Linked DNA regions of Homo sapiens: region 2 is linked to region 1. The links are contacts of gene promoters, found by promoter capture Hi-C in human tissues and cell types (Jung and others, 2019). All regions are on one chromosome and are shown on one strand. Each heading gives the region's core, a stretch centred on a gene start or on the middle of the fragment in contact. The rest is flanking DNA. Distances are from core to core; before and after follow the strand shown. Region 1 holds the start of ANKRD34C (ankyrin repeat domain 34C). Region 2 overlaps TMED3 (transmembrane p24 trafficking protein 3).

The links. Contacts are between HindIII fragments. The study calls those that stand out against the background at their distance.
Region 2: a fragment that was not itself captured here is called in contact with the fragment with the promoter of ANKRD34C in region 1 in 1 of the 25 tissues and cell types used here (pancreas).

Annotation. Positions count from the first base shown.
Region 1 is chr15:79,279,506-79,284,860 of GRCh38, forward strand. ANKRD34C (ankyrin repeat domain 34C) reads left to right here and starts at 3,217. Exons shown (of 2, transcript NM_001146341.2): 1 at 3,217-3,723. It overlaps ANKRD34C-AS1 (ANKRD34C antisense RNA 1), which reads right to left and starts at 4,440. Exons shown (of 2, transcript NR_038997.1): 1 at 4,144-4,440. RefSeq lists an enhancer at 3,152-3,691 and a silencer at 3,343-3,541. The HindIII fragment of the contact is 7,267 bases long and covers 958-5,355 here.
Region 2 is chr15:79,320,103-79,325,457 of GRCh38, forward strand. TMED3 (transmembrane p24 trafficking protein 3) reads left to right here. Exons shown (of 3, transcript NM_007364.4): 3 at 1,876-2,738. The coding sequence ends at 2,112. Among named protein-coding and RNA genes, the nearest start is that of TMED3, 12 kb to the left of the region's middle. The HindIII fragment of the contact is 4,091 bases long and covers 654-4,744 here.

The DNA of each region.
Region 1 (5,355 bases), core at 1,967-4,466:
CACACATACATACACACACATCTCCAAAGAGATGCTGACAAGTCTTTAGAATGCTCCTTTGCAAAGGCAGAGAACGTGCCTGTCTTATTCTAAATCTACAGCACTCCAAAAGAAGGCAGATCAGGTCACATAGCACAGACTCAATAGTAGATTTTGGCTGAAAACCAAAATGAATTCAAGCCTCCTAGGAGACCTTAACAGTTTAATTTAAATACTGATAGATCAGGCAGATAAGCGTAGTTAACACATACAGGGTGCTTACTCCCTATCAGACACTGTGCTAAACATTTTACATATTTTACCTTAGCTGCCTCTCATCCCAGTTGTAGAAAGTAGATACTAATATTAACCCAATTTTATGGACACAAAGGCATTTGGTGTCTCATCGGAGACACAAAGGCATTTGGTGTCTCATCAGAGACTATGCAGCTGGTGAGTGCTGGAATTGGGATTTAAATACAGGCAGTCTGACCCCTGAGTCTGTGCTCTTAATCAATACACTATACTGCCTGTAGTCCAAAGTAAAGATGTAAAGGTTGCTGATATGGTTTAGCTGTGGTCCCACCCAAATCTCATGAATTGTAGCTCCCATAACCCCCACATGTCAAGGGCAGAGCCAGGTGGAGATAATTGAATCACAAAGGCGGTTTCCCCCATACTGTTCTCATGGTAGTGAATAAGTCTCATGAGATCTGACAGTTTTGTAAACGGGAGTTCCCCTGCACAAGCTCTCTTGCCTGCCACCATGTAAGATGTGACTTTCCTTCTCCTTTGACTTCCATCATTATTGTGAGGCCTCCCCAGCCATGTGGAACTGTGAATCCATTAAACTTCTTTCCTCTATGAATTACCCAGTCTCACGTATGTCTTTATTAGCAGTGTGAGAGAGGACTAATACAGGTACTAATGTACAATTAACTTTACAGGTGTACTTGTATTGTTTGTGCCCCAAAACACAGAATGTACATTTTTTTTCTACATTAAGTGTGAGGGAAAATGCTTGTGGAGTATTTTTTATTTGTCATATAAATAGACCACAACACGGAAATGATGTAAATCATATAATTCAACTACAGCAAAATAATATTAATGAAAAATAGTGGGGGAGAACACAACATCAGGAATAAAAAGGGGATATAGGAATAGATTTAAAGGAGATGAAAAATTATAAAGGAGCATAATATGTAACATTATGCCAATACATTAAAAAAGGTAGATGAAATGAACTTTTTTCCAGGTAAATATAAATTACCCAAAATTGACTCAAGATGGGTCAGATGATGAATATGCCAACAAGCATCAATGAATTTGAAAAGATAATCAAAGATCTATCCTTCTAAAATCCATCAAGTCCAGACAGTTTCATGGGTATGTTCTATTAAACCCTCAATGAACTGATAGTTAACTTGATAATTTAAATATTCCAGAGTGTAGGAAAAAACAGAATGCGTCCAAAATCATTCTATAAGGTTACCATAACCTTGCACCAAAGTTGAATGAGAACCCTCATCCCCTAAAAAGGAAAAAGAACACAATTTTTACTTATTAATATAGACGGAATAAACCTTATATTAACATAAGTAAATTATTGCAATCTAGCAGTGTATTTGTATAAAATAACATACATTAACCAAGTAGAGTTTGTTTTGAGAAATATAAAGTGTTATAAAGGTGGCATTCACATCAGTGAGCGAAGAATGGACTTTTTGAATTGGTGTTGGGACAATTGGGTTCTCATCTTTGTCAGTTCCTTACCTTACCCTGTGCACAAATACAGTTTCCAGATGAAATGGTAATCTAAACAACAGAGCTATACATTACTAGAACATTTAGGGAACTGTATGGTGATTCTGGGGTACGAAGCCTCCCTAGGCAAGATGGGAAATCTAGAAACCATGCAAGATAAGACATGTGTTTGACTACATAAACCTTGAAACTGCTTTAGAGAGAAAAACTCCACAAACAGTAGGCAGTCATTATAAATATTGGGTACTAGGAGGGTACATTTCTCTAAGTGATACTATAGACACACTAAGTGATAAAGGCAACTTATGGAATAATATTTTTGCCCTTAAAAGATAAAATTGATAATCCTCCAGCAAGCTTGATTTAAAAAATTGGGAATGGAGCAGTAGAAAACACAAATAAATAATATCAGCAATAAGGAGGCCCAGAACAGTTTTAGAGATGAAAATAAATATAAGGTGACACTATTTGTAACTTTGTGCCAGAAAATTTGAAAATGTAAATGAGATGGACAATATCCTAGGAAAATATAAATTACTAAAAATGACTGAAGAAGTAGGGATTTAAAAAACATAGGGCAAATAGAACCCCTGTGTGCATATACATGTATCTAGACGAAAATGCTGGTTACCTCTGGGGAACTGATTAGTGGGGGAAGGACACTGCAGGGTAGGGGAGGAGGGGGCACTCACTTTCTATTTTTTTTGGAAAGCATTTTAGTTTTTTTTTTTTTTGTAGAGACTTTTTTTTTTTTTTTTTTTTTTTTTTTTTTTTGGTAAGTCTCACTATGTTGCCTAGGCTGGTTTTGAACTCCTGGCCTCAAGCGGTCCTCCTACCTTGGCCTCCCAAAGCGCTAGGATTACAAGCATGAGCCACTTACTTCCTAAATACAATGCCTTATGCTTTCAATCATATGCAGCAACTATTAACTACTTTGTAAAAAGGAAACGAAGATTGTCCGCGAACGACTCCACAGGAGGCCCTGGGAATAGGTAGCGGGTGGGCTAAAACATTGATTTGGAATGAAATCCAACGGCCGTGGAACCAGCCCTGATCATCAAATTATTCCCAGTTTTGAGGATCGCACTGCACCCTCCTCTCTCCCTCTCTTTCCTACACCTTGGACAGACAGCCTGAGATTCCAGGGCGTGTGTGAAGGAAAGCCGAGGAGGGCAGGGCCGCAGAGAGAACAAAGGGGACACGAGTTCAAATTCCTGCCAGGGTCTGAGACCTGCAACGTCAGACTTTGGGAGCGTCCCCTCACTTCTCCGGACCCCAGGAGTGGCCGCGCCTGCTCCGCGCTCACCCTCGGGGAGTCTAGGAGCCCCCTGCTAAGTTGCTGAGCGAGTCGGAGCCCCAAGAGCTAGGGTCGAGGGGGTGGGGCAGCAGGCGCCTCTGCCGAGGCTGCAGGTAGGCACTTCCCCACCCCCGCGGCCCCCTCCTTCCTCCTTCCTCGCAGCTCGCACACCCACACAACCCTCGCCCGTCGCGGCTGGAGAGCTGCTCTCGGCGCCAGCGGGCAGCAGCGCGTCGTCAGCCAGCACAGCCGGCCGAAGACCAAGCCGGAGGTCTGGGGCTGCGCAGAGACCTGCACACCCGCAGCGCGGAACCGGGGGCGATTCCTATCTTTCTTTCATGCTTCTTTCTTTTTCTTAAAACCAAACCAAACCAAACCAAACCCAAAACTCCCCTGCTCCCACCGCAACTTGGAGGAGCGGTGGACCGATTTGAAGGAACTGACGCAGAGGTTTTATTCACGAACCTTGAAGAAGTTCTGGGCAAGTGACTCAACAGGACCCGCGGGGCCCGGGGTAGCCCCAGCTCCCGGCGCTGGTTCAGTCTGGCAGTGCCCTCTGGCAGCCAACCCGCAGCTGCAGGTAGGGGTGCTGGACGCCCCCTGATTTTGTTTTGGGAATAATAATGACACTACCTATAGCCTGGACCCAGGTGGCCTCGCTCGGCGATTGTCCCCACCAGGTAAGCGCACCCCCAGGGGTCTGCATTGGTCACCCGGGTGGGGACCTCGAGCTCCCGAGAAGTCGGTCCATGCTGTTTAGCCACAGGCAGGAGTGGGGAACTGGTAGGAGACAGCTTGCTTTTATCACAGGAAATTGTGGGAGACGGGAATGGAAGGCGGATTTAACATTTTTTATTTTTGCATTGACGCGTGGGGATGAGATGCGTAGGGGCCTGGATTCTTGTAGGAAATGGTTGCGGAGCGGGGCTGGGTGATAGGTGTCTGGATTTTTGCAGGGACTGAAGGGGAAGAAAGGTCGTCAGTTTTTGCAGAAACCTGTGAGGAACTGGCGGTGAGAGGTTATGATCCTGAAAATGTGCACGAAATTGTAAAAAGTAGGCACCTAAGCATTTCTGAGAAATGATGGGAGAAGCACTTACCGCCCTGGTTTCACCTGACCCCCATGCTCGGCCTTCTGGAAGATGCCCACAGACACTGGCAATAATGGACGCTGGCACACTCTGCCGGCGCGGCCGGAGCCCCGGAGTTCAGCACCTCGGACAGAGCCCGAGCCCCGCCGCCCGAGGCGCACAGTGAGCGTGGAACAGCCCGGCTCCCTAGCCCCCGGCCAACGCTGCTCTCAGTTCAGGGCAGCTACGTAACACCGCCCCTAGCTCCGCGCCAGAAAGGGCTCTCGAATCGCAAAAGCAAACGTGTTCGATTTCTGATCTGCTTCTAACTGCTTCCCGTGACTGCAGAAGGAAGAGGCGGAGTGTAAAGATATCTCCCAAGCTTCCGCGAAAACTACAGGCAAACTGTGTGGCCTCCCCGGATTTCGGAAGGTGTACCCAAACTTCTTTAAAAATCTAGCATTTATTAAGCGCTTACCATGTGCCAAGGCCCCGTGCTAAGCCAGTGCACCACAAATTTGTGTCCTATGAGTATCCCCATTTTACAGATGAGAAAACTGAAGCAAGAGAGGCCGAGTAACTTGTCCAGGTTTATGGAACTAGCAAATGGTATGGCTGCGCTCTTAAACGCTGCCAGATTGCAGTGGTGGGAGGATGTGCTTGAGTGGAATTCCCTGCGTGAAATAGCTCTGAACTTGGGATCAGAGGAACAGAGTTTAAATCAAAGCTGTAGCACTTAAAAACGTGTGCCCTTAGACAAAATTACTAAATGTGTCTGAACTTCAGATTTTAACTATCTGTAAATACTTGATAATGCTTTCCTTGCAAAAGTGTCAGGGGAGGGTGGCCAAGGAGATCATATGTGTGGAAAGACTGGCAAACTGGGAATTGTGGTTGGGTGTTAGGGGCTGAAAGGAAGGAGCAGGTAATTAGAAGAGAAGGAGAATTGGTGGTGAACACTTCCCTCAGCACACTCCAAAGGGACTGGGCACAGAGCGGGGCTCAGTGGGAGGAATTCTGGATGAGCTTAGTTCAGTGTGTAATAGCCTCTTAGATTTTTTAACAGGACTTTATAGAGAGTGTGGACATATTGCCTACCATTTGATCCTTATAACAATGTTGTTAAGTAGGCAGGACTGGGGTTATTCTACTTGTTTGGCAAAATGATGCTTGCCCAAAATTACTCAGGTACTTAGTAGCAGAGCTGGGATTAGAATCCAGATCTCCCGCCTCTCTAGCTTA
Region 2 (5,355 bases), core at 1,449-3,948, 40 kb after region 1:
TTGACACTGACGCTACCGCTAGACCACAGTCCACTTGGCAATGGGCGTCTTCCCAGACACTGGCATTACCGCTAGACCAAGGAGCCCTCTGGCGGCCCTGTCCAGGCATAACAGAAGGCTCGCACTCTTGTCTTCTGGTCACTTCTCACTATGTCCCCTCAGCTCCTATCTCTGTGTGGCCTGGTTTTTCCTAGGTTATGATTGTAGAGCAAGGATTATTATAATATTGGAATAAAGAGTAATTGCCACAAACTAATGATTAATGATATTCATATATAATCCTATCTATGATCTATATCTAGTATCACTATTCTTATTTTATATATTTTATTATACTGGAACAGCTCGTGCCCTCGGTCTCTTGCCTCGGCACCTGGGTGGCTTGCCGCCCACAGGAAGGGAGGTCACAGAGTGACTTGGTCTTTTCTAGTTTATTGTACTGTACTTTACAAATAGTTTGCCTTTGGAGTTTGGGAACTGAAGTGAGTGTCTGGTGCATGCTTTGTGAATTCCTCTAGCCTGAGAACTCACTGATAGGATAGAATTTTCTAGGTCTTGGATACATGGTGGTTTAGAGGCTGCCTCTGAATAAGAACTCAACGTTTTCCCACAGGCATAATGTGTTGTCTATTGCTGAGTAACTAATTACTACAAACATAGTGTCTTAATGCAATACTCACTTATTACCGCACAGCTCTGTATGCTGTGAGCCTGGGCAGGTTGGCCAGATTCTTTGGGGTCTCCCAAGCCTGATGTCGAGGTGGTGGCAGGTTGGGCTCCTACCTGGAAGCTCTGGGGAAGGATCTGCTTTCATGCTCATTCAGGTTGTTGGTGGAGTTCAGTTCTTTGTGGTTGTAGGACTGAGGTCCCCATTTCCTTGCTGACTGTTGTACCCTCAACGCCTGGAGGCCTTTTTCTGGTCCTGGCAAGTGGTCACCTCCACCTTCAAAGCCAGTGTGGCACATTGAATTTTTCTCATGCTTCAGAACTGTCTTGACTTCTTCTGCAACTAGCTGGAGAAAGCTCCTGGCGTCTGAGGGCTCCTGTGATGGGATCAGGCCTGAATAACCTCCCCATCTTCAGGTCAGCTGTGTCATATTAACGTGATGCAGTCACAGAGGTGACAGCTCATCATATTCACAGCTTTCTGGAATTAGGGCGGGGGACCTTGGTGGTGGTGGGAAGGACATTTTCAGACTTCTGCCTACCACACTGAATATTTTTGCAGGTAAAGAAAGTTATGATGTAGTATGTGTTACACATGAGCGTATGTGTCTATGTAGTGCCTGTTTATATATATGTGTCTTTGCATGTGTGTGCATGTGCTTACATACATGAAGCGTGTGTCTTCATGTGTTTGTGTTTATACATAAAACTATAGGCAGCAATTACATAATAGAATGAGCATGAGCAGTGGATTCAGAGTCCAAACACAACTGTGGTCTAGTTCACACTTTGCTGTTTATTAGTTGTATGACTTTGGGCAATTCGTGTAGCCTCTTGGAGCCTCAGTTTCCTCATCTGTGTGTGGGATAAGCCCTCGTTAACAGTGAGGGTAATGATCCGTGCCTATCAGGAGTATTGTAAGGATTGAATAAGAGAGTATAGGGCAGTGCTTGAAAGCATAGGCTCAGGACTCAGACTCTAACTCAGCCACATACTAACTGTGTGACTCTGGGCAAGTTACTTAACCTCTCTGAGCTTCAATTAGGCTTGTTGTGAGGATTAAATAAAACCACGTAAAACCCTTAGCACAGACTCTTAGTTAGCATTCAGTGGATATCACCTAGGATGTTGACAACAGCATTTGCTGTTTGCTGGATCCCACATTTGTCTATGGGTTAGCAGTGTGACTGCTTTTCTCTTCCTGCCCAGATGGAGTCCGCCTGCGTGACCATCCATGAGGCTCTGAAAACGGTGATTGACTCCCAGACGCATTACCGGCTGCGGGAGGCCCAGGACCGGGCCCGAGCAGAAGACCTTAATAGCCGAGTCTCTTACTGGTCTGTTGGCGAGACGATTGCCCTGTTCGTGGTCAGCTTCAGTCAGGTGCTACTGTTGAAAAGCTTCTTCACAGAAAAACGACCCATCAGCAGGGCAGTCCACTCCTAGCCCCGGCATCCTGCTCTAGGGCCCCTCATGCCCCAGGCTGGAGCAGCTCTCCTAGGTCACAGCCTGCTGGGCTGGGTCGCGTAGCCCAGGGTGGAGGCAGAACGATGCTGCTGTGGTAGCCCTTTGCCTTTCATGCCCATGCTTGATTCTTGCACCTCAGCAGCTGAAGGTCTCAGAGACCAGTAATCAGAAGGCATCCGACTGCATTAAGTGTGCAGCGCTGAAAAGACATTTACAACTAGGCCAGGGATTAGCCACTGTGGGAGGGTGGACAGGCAATGGTTCAGTGGCCTGGCTGTTGGCAGGAACTCCAAGTGCCCAGGCCTCTTGGGCAGCTTAGGGCCCTGCCTCTGTTTCATGATGCATGGGTCATTTGTCTTGGGTGTCCTATCCCATATGGAGAAGAAAGGGGCTCTAAGTTCTGGCTCTTCTTTCTTTGGGGTTCTCTGTACCTGAGGAAACCAGGCCCTGGGTGACTTTGCAGATCTGCTCACCCTCGGTGAGCAACAGTGTCAGCCATGCAAGCAGGACAGAATGGTGACTGGGTGCCCTTGGTGAGCTGTGTATTTCCTAGGAGGTAGAAAACTGTGGGAAACTGTGGCTAATAAAAACTAAGTGTGAGCGTCCTGGAGACTTGTGCCTTTATTTCTTTGCCCTAAAGGACTCCAGAGCTTACTGCAGAGCATGGGTGTGTGCATAAATAATTAGAATGTGACATAGAGTACCTAGAGAGGTGCATGGGGTGCTGTGCAGAGATGTATAGAGTGGGCAAGAAATGACTCCTCCCAGGTGACTGAAAACAAAATAGGAAGTCTCCTCGCATGCTCACACCATGTTGTACAACGGAACTTTGCAAATGCTGTTTCCTCTGATAATACCTTCTCCCGGATATCTGCATGCCCTGCTCCATCATTTCCTTCTGACCCAAAGGCACATTATCAGTGAAGTCCCTCCCAACCACTCTTCAAGATGGTACTGTCTCACTTGCCCTTAGTCCTCCTTGCCCATTAGTAAGAAATGAATGCATACCAATCAGATGTCTGTGCAGTAGGTCTGGAGGGAAGATACAGTGTCTCCGCTGAAGGAAACCTATCAAATCTGAAATCCTGCACCGTCTGACAGGCGTTAATGCATTGTAGGAAAGGAAGCAAAATAATCTCTTTAAAAGGATACCCCATAAGCCTCACTTATTTAGCTTGATTGAAGGATAAATGTTGCTTATCTTTCATATGTTTTTGCTATTTCTTTTCTCTTATTTTAGAATTAAGTACTGGGTATATATAAAAGGTTACTTATGAAATATGTCTAAGGTGAAATATGTCTAAAGTGAAAAACAATACAAAAATCCTATGCTCCTGCTACCTAGATTAAGCACTGCAACATGACCCATTGCTTCTGGAATGTTCTCTACCTGCCCTTCTCCTTCACCCTCTGAGGGAACCACCAGCCTGAATGTAATGCTTATCAAGCACTGAGAAAGGAGTTTAAAGAATTGAAGGACACAGCTTTACTAAAACTCACGTTGTCTTCCACTTTTTTATGGAAACTAGGTTCTTTCAACCTTAAAAAAAATAGGATTGCTGGTGATACCTGTTTTATTTATATAACCTTGTAATCATTTATCCATAAATATGTAGATTCATTGAGGGGGCAAAAACCCTGCCCCACTGGCTGATTTAGGAAATAATGTTGGCAATAAAATGTACTGCTTATGCAGTGTTTATGTTTTGATCAATTAGGTACTAATAACAGTTGAAATAACTTCCCAATCCAGAAGAAATTTTTTTTTCTTTTGAGACAGAGTCTCACTCTGTCGCCCAGGCTGGAGTGCAGTGGTGCAGTCTCGGCTCACAGCAACCTCCCCCTCCTGGGTTTACACCATTCTCCTGCTTCAGCCTCCCAAGTAGCTGGGACTACAGGCACCCGCCACCACGCCCGGCTAATTTTTTTGTATTTTTAGTAGAGACGGGGTTTCACCGTGTTAGCCAGGATGGTCTCGATCTCCTGACCTCGTGATCCGCCCGCCTCGGCCTCCCAAAGTGCTGGGATTACAGGCGTGAGCCACTGCACCCGGCCCCAGAAGAAATATTTTTAACACTTAAGCTTTACAGTTAAACAGCATATGAAACATTTTGAAATTGAAGATTTTTTGTTATAGAGAAATACAATAGGGTACTCTATATAATTTCAAACAGAGTAATACAGTTCCATAAGAAAGATGAAATGGAAGTATGACTCTAAGAAGGAAGGGGAAAGATGGAAAATTTCTGAGCATTTATTTATGGATGATGATGGGTATCAAATCGTCTTAGTAATTAGAATCCACTGAATATAATTAAAATAGTGATGTAATTTTTTAAAAAGTAATATTTAATATATGGTAGAAATTATCTCCCTTGTAACTATTTAAATTCATGATGAAATATTTTAGATGTCAGCTTTAAAAATGTATGAGGCTTTAGAGTTTCTCAAGTTCTTTTAGGGGATATTTAAGCAAAAGAAATAGGAGAGGCTATTTGCATCTGGATTTTCTGGAGAGACTCGTTGACATCTGGGCAGCATGGTGGAAAAGGGTGTCAGCATTGGCATTTTAGTAGAAAGAGGACTGGGTTGGGGCTGACCTTTCTGGATTTGAATCCAGGTCTGCTATGTGCTACTTGTGCCATCTTGGGTAAGGTACTGAACCTCTCTGAACCTTCATTTCCTCATCTGTAAAATGAGCAGAAGGGAGTATTTTTACTGGCCAGGAACTTCAGGCTTATGCATTGGTAAACAGAATTAGGATTCACCCTGTTTTCAGTAAAATCCCTTTAAATTTGAGGCCTGGGTGGAACTGACAGGTGGAGTTTGAAGGCACATCTGCTAGCTCACATAGGAAACAGAATCTCCCAGGGAAAAGACATAGGACCTCTGACTCTAACTGAGGTTCTGGATTATTATGAGAGATTTTCAGAAATGGTCTAATGGTGTTGGCTTGCTCCATACCATAGATTTTAAGAGACAGTAGAGCTTCTGCGATGAGATTCCCCCATAAAATAATTATGGATCTGCACTGGCAAGCTGGTCTTGGCTCCAAAGACCAAGAGTTGGTTTGTGGTGCTGATTCTGAACCCTTGCGATGCAACTGTCTGGTAGTAAAATGGCTTTGTATGGTAAGAAAGCTTTAATCCTCGAGGCCTAGACAACTTTACTGCAGGGCATTCTCTACAGGATGACTTTAGTGGGGAGGTGATGTTTTCTTTG